2 separate regions of the Homo sapiens genome follow, and region 2 is linked to region 1. The links are contacts of gene promoters, found by promoter capture Hi-C in human tissues and cell types (Jung and others, 2019). All regions are on one chromosome and are shown on one strand. Each heading gives the region's core, a stretch centred on a gene start or on the middle of the fragment in contact. The rest is flanking DNA. Distances are from core to core; before and after follow the strand shown. Region 1 holds the start of STK32B (serine/threonine kinase 32B). Region 2 overlaps STX18 (syntaxin 18).

Region 1 (2,950 bases), core at 27-2,526:
GCACAGCTCGGTACTGCTTGCATTTATAAGGCACTTTTCACGTGGATTACTAGTGGTTAAGCTTCAAACAACCCTATAAAGTAGCTAGTGGTATCATAACTCACATTTCATTGATGAAGGGACTAATGTTTCAGAGAGGTGAAGTAAGTTTTCCAGGGACACGCTGCACTGGAAAGAGGGTTCTGCTAGTCCAAATAGGGAGCTCTATCGACCTGAACCGCAAGGATCCAGCCAGGAAGTTGAGATGCGGTTGGACAGCCTACACCACTTCTGCGCCAGGGGGAGGCTGCCCAGAACAGGACGCCCTCCTAGGAACCACAGAGTTTAGCAAAGAAAAGTTTCCCTCTGTCCTGGGTGATTGAGGAGAGCTGCATCCAACAGGCCCTTGCACGAGACCAAATGCGTCGTGGGCACGCGCACACACACACAGACACACGGTGCAACCCGCCCTTCCAGGCCACCTCCGTCAGCCTCAGGCTCTCAAGGAAACCTCGGTTTCCTGGGGAGCCCGAGCCTAGAACCATCCCGACTGGCCTCCGAAGTCAACTCCTCCCTTCCACACCCCCAAGTGCAGGTTTCGGGTTCAACTCTCTGAAGCCGCCTCCCCAGTCCCGCGCTAGGCACCGTCCCGACTACTAAACGGCACTGGGTACCTAGGAGTTGCCTCAGCAGAAGCGCCGCGCCTGGCACGGGTCGGGCACACACTGCATTCGCTGGGCGAAGTGGCCATGCCTGGGTCCCCGCGCCGGGCAGCATGCGGTGCCCCGCAGGGCTCGGCCGAGGGTGGTGGAGGAAGGGGATGCCCCGCGAAGCGGGAATTCGCACCTCTCGCTCTCTTACCTTCCTCATTCTCGTCAAACACGGGGGGCTTGTGGGAGTGGTTCCCGCCCATATTCCGCCGTTGCTGCCGCTGCTACATGCCCGGCCGCTGGGATGCCGGATGCGGGATGTGGGACGCGCGCAGAGATGCGGGATGCCGGGGGCGCGCCCAGTCCGGGTTGTAGCCGCGCGCGGAGCCCGAGGGGGCCGAGCACCGTGCAGGGGCGGGGACGGCGTCCCCCTTCTCCTGGACGCCCTTCCGACTGCGCTCGCAGGGACCCCGCTCTCGCCGCGCCTTCCGCCGTGCCCCGCCTCGGGCTGCGCTCGCAGCTCCTTACTCCAGTGCCCGCCCGGGAACCCGGGAGCTCCTCGCGCCGGGGCCAACGTGCGGCGCTCCTCGCCGGCTACAGCGGGCGGGAGACGCGAGGCGGCGCGGGAGCAGGGGAAGGAGGGGAAGGAGCGGGGGAGGAGGGGACGGACGAAGGCAGCACGCAGTGGGCGGCGGCAGGGCGGAAGGAGCTGAGAAAGGGATCGGCCCGGAAGAATCTGAATCCCTGCTCGGCCCTCCTCCCTCGGCCGGGAGCTCGGTCCCTGCAGGCAGTAAGCGGTTTGTCAGCACCCACTATGGCCAGGCCTCGGCTACGCGCTTTGTTAGCACCATCCCACATCCGCCTCCGACAACCCAGCAGTAAGAAAGCATCGTTCATATTTTAGAGCGCAGTAGACGGAGGTCTAGAGGTAGAGGGGCTCTTAGGTCTGTGGTTAGTCGGCCCCGGCTGCGAAGGGAGTCCCAGGACTCCCCGCTAGCCTGTATTTGCCCATTCATATTGGGATGGGCAGTGGAGTGTCTGCTGGCTCTCCAACCGACGCTGTTCCTCTTAAGGTTTTTCTCAGTGTTTAATGAATGAAAGTATCTGTTTACTTTCTGACCCCTTAAGATTAGATACTAATCTGACCCCTTCATTGTACATGGGGAAACTGAGGCCCCAGACAGCCATAGTTTGCCCCAAACCATTCTCCCTGGGAATGGCTGGGCATGAGTCTCGGGATTCCCCCAAAATTGGGCGGCATCGGCGTCCGATTTAGGGGCGAGGCTAGCATGAGGGTCCCTGGGCTCCTGCGGCGGGAGCCTGGATCGGGAGATACGCGCCACAGTTGCGGGTGCCTAAGTAAGGGGTGCGGCAGATGCGCCCCAAGACGTGTGGGGCGAGCGCGGGTTCCCAGGACGCTCCCTGAGGGACAGGCAGGTCCCCCTGCCTTGCAGTCCTGCGGGCCCAGCTCTCCGGGACTGCAGGGAATCTTTGGCTACATCCTGCCATCTGCTGGGCGCCTGGAACCACTGTCCGTGCTTTGATAGAAAGCAGGGGTTCTTTGTGACTCTCTCCATCCTATCTCGTCCCCCAGTCCCCGTCCCCTACCTGGTCTCTCTCTCCAGTTCTCTCCCCTTCTTTCTTTTTCTTGGGAGAAGGGTGAGGGAAGCCGGGGAGACTCATACAGAAACAAAACAAAACAAAACAAAACAAAAAATCTCTTAAAGGCAGTGGGAAAGAACTGAGAAGGTCTGAGGCAGGCCCACCCACCATGACCCAGAGCTGGCTCTACCATTTACTGGCAATGTGTCCCACTTTGGAGTTCTTATCTGCAAAGTGGGCTGATTGATATTAACTCCTTGGGTTGTCTGTGAGAATTATATCAGGTAATATTTATAAAAGCAGGCAACAGTGCCCGGCATATAATAAATGATGAATAAATATTTCTTGCCTTTCATTCCACCAACAAGCATACACTGAGTAGCCAGTGTGCAGCAGGCAATGCCCTGAACACAGAGCTGGCCCCTAGCTCAAGAAGCATAGGGCGGAATGTGGACAGGCATGGGCTCTGGGCTCATTCTACCCAGGTTTCATTCTGCTTTGCCCCTCATTAGCCAGTTAACTTGGATAAATTACTTAACCTGTTCTGGACTCAGTTTCTTCATCTGAGTCCAGAAGGTGCTAATAAGAGAACTTTCCCTTTCTAACATTGTTATGAGGAATATATTGATATTGTGCTAGGCCGGGCGTGGGGGCTCACACCTGTAATCCCAGCACTTTGGGAGGCTGAGGCGGGTGGATCACCTGAAGTCAAGAGTTTG
Region 2 (2,878 bases), core at 177-2,676, 560 kb after region 1:
TCTTAGTCATATGGTGATAAGCAGAATTCAGAACATGTCTCTTTTTTAATGCATGTGAAATAGAAAGTGATAGTCATCACAAAATGAAATTTGATTTATGATGTGTTGATGCATCGTCATACTAAGGCACGCTGAAAAATATTTTCAGTTTCCTAATAAAAACAAAGTGACCTCCCCATGAGTGATTCTCCTAATTGTTATTGTCAAATGCTTTTCTTTATGCTTTTTTTCTTGCTCACACTCAGATAATCTACAAACACTGTTTGAATCCTGTGTTTCACTTTCTTTTCTTATGAAAAGTTTTCAGTGAATATAGTCCCTGAGCGAATCCTTTCCAACAAAGTACTTAACTTTCTATGCACACAATTCAAAAGTCAATTAAATGTGCGTGATTCATTTATCACAAAGAGTACCACCTATACTCTGTGGAAAATTCTTTCTGTTCGAAAGAAGGTTCTTATTTCTAAGAATGAGCTCTGATTTTAATTAAATAAAGAGCATTTTATGCAATTTTTTTCTAAAGCTTAAGATTAATTTCTATGGTTACTAGGGATATAAATCTCTAGATTGCTTTAAAACAAAGATTTTTGTCCAGGAGAGAGTTGACAGCTCCCTATAAGAGAAGCTATTACTTAATTTTTCTTTCCTAAGTTTAAACACATAAAAATATTTGTAATGATACCCCAAAGGCATCATAAAAATGTAAAATAATTGTACTCTAAAATATCTAAAATTACAGGAAATAGACCTCATTTTAAAAAATGAACTGAGATTCATGGCTGGGTAACCGGAGTGTGACATACTTCAAAACCAGAATCTCTTGTCAGGATACTTTTAGTTTTTTAATGGCTAAAAAAAGAAGTCTTTTGTCAATCATAAAAACTTTAAAATATGTTCATTCTATTAGGAAATCTTACTTTTTAGTTTCATTACCTTTAACGTATATTACACTGTGGCTGCGCTAGATCCCTTTGAGAGGCACATTTCAGTCTTTAGAATTAGGTGGCATCACTAGGCTTGTGATCAACGATATCACAAGACAACCGTTAGACTGTTTTTAATGATTATTTTTTAAAAGTACATAGCCATTTTCTAAGCAGCTTTGAAAAAAGGCAGCATAAATCGTTTCCAGTGTCTTACTTACCCAAAGTATACTTCCTCTTTCGGTAGATGATGTTAACTGGTAAATTGTTCCCAGGTTAAAGGTTTGTCATATTTTAATAAATGTAGTGTAAAATCTATAGTAGAGACACTTCAAGGAAAAAACCCTCAACGTTTTCAGTAAATGAAATTAATATATATCCTTTTTCCTACGTTAGTATTATGGTATCATTTCTTTTGTTATTTTTATTTACTAAAACTTTAATTGAGCCTTATATAGTAAAATATCCTCATGTTTTTAGGAAAAGTGAAATTAGATTTATAAAATGTCCAGACTGAAGTTTTGAAAGAAATGGCATTTTGTATATAATATGGATGAATGCTGTTGAGGCTAGACGTGCTCGTAGTTTAAAACATGCCTGATCCGGGAATGCTTTGCATTAAATGAGTTTATATTTTGAGAGCAAAACAGGGAAAGAAAACACTTTCCTTCTTTTTTTTTTTTTAAGAGACAAGAAAATTAAGTTGAATGCGTATATTGAAAGTGCTATAAGCCGAATGTTTGAACAACAAAAGTAAACACTGATTATTACAAATGTACATTTGGACCACGTTGCTTTTATCTTTCAAGCAAAACATTTCCCACAGTTTTTGTGGGTTTTTATTTAAGTTGGGAAAACTTCGGAAGTTTGTGTGAAAGTATAAATAAGTTTGGAAATGTCATGATTAGAGTTTGATAATAAACATGCAAAAGCAAATGGGAAACTCTATTAAAGTCAGATGTAACATTAAATAATGTTTTCTCTAAAATGTATTTGCAGAGAGAAGAACAGTGATTTATGTGGATTTGAAACAAAGACTTTGGCTGTAATTTAAAATAAAGGTTAAATGTGAATTCTTCAGCCTGAACATGGATGAAGTTTTTTGTTTTTAAGAGCTTCCTTAGTGATTGTTATAGGAGCCTCTGTGCCCTTTTCCAATTATGGGCACAGAAATTATGCATGTATTTATAGATTCCATGTAAAAAAATTCTTAGTTTCCAATAAATTTTAAGCTGCATTTTACGAAGTAAGCATCTGTAGAGAACCTTTTGGAGAAAAAATAGGAGGGAAAACGTTTCAGTTTATGTAATTATTGAAATATACCACTGTATAGAGAATGAATAGAAATTTAAAACCGTAATCTGAAATTTGTTTTAAATCTCATTGTTATGAGATTGACCTCATAATTGCAAATCGGCATTTTGTGTTCAGTACAACTCCAATTCTTAAGGAAATTTGTCTGTTCTATTAGAGTAATACTGTAAGTTTAGGAAGATGCCCCTTTGGCTATTGTTACATATGGGCCCTTTTGAAAATAGTGGTCATGCTAATATTTGATCAGATAATGCTGACTAATGCTGTAGAGCTTTCGAAAGATTTCTTGAACATTGTCAAGTTTTACTTTCCTTTCTTAGGTACATGACTGTGTATCTCTTAAAAGTGTATATGTATTTGTGGGGGGCAGTTAGTGTTACATTTTTATTGTAAATTTATTACAGTTCGATATGTGATTTTGAGTGAAATTCATTGCAATATGAATGAAAATTTTTTGTATGTATGGTGTTTCAAATGCTTTACCTAATTAATTGTCTGAAAAACTGTTAAAGGGGATTTAAATTGCATATACTAGTTTTACATTTAAAGCTTTCACACTGAGCTGAATTCAGATACAGGACCTTAAATTTTTTGTCCAAAGAAAGTAAGAACTCATGTAGAATGAAAAGATATAATTTGAG

The links. The method cuts DNA at HindIII sites, captures the fragments that hold promoters and counts their contacts. A contact is called where the count stands out against the background at its distance.
Region 2: a contact is called between a fragment that was not itself captured here and the fragment with the promoter of STK32B in region 1, in 2 of the 25 tissues and cell types used here (IMR-90 fibroblasts and hippocampus).

The regions. Positions count from the first base shown.
Region 1 is chr4:5,049,806-5,052,755 of GRCh38, reverse strand. STK32B (serine/threonine kinase 32B) reads right to left here and starts at 1,276. Exons shown (of 12, transcript NM_018401.3): 1 at 841-1,276. The coding sequence starts at 892. RefSeq lists an enhancer at 36-574. The HindIII fragment of the contact is 7,679 bases long and covers 1-2,950 here.
Region 2 is chr4:4,489,847-4,492,724 of GRCh38, reverse strand. The region is part of intron 1 of STX18 (syntaxin 18); the gene reads left to right. Among named protein-coding and RNA genes, the nearest start is that of STX18-IT1, 9.6 kb to the right of the region's middle. RefSeq lists an enhancer at 2,425-2,604. The HindIII fragment of the contact is 6,423 bases long and covers 1-2,878 here.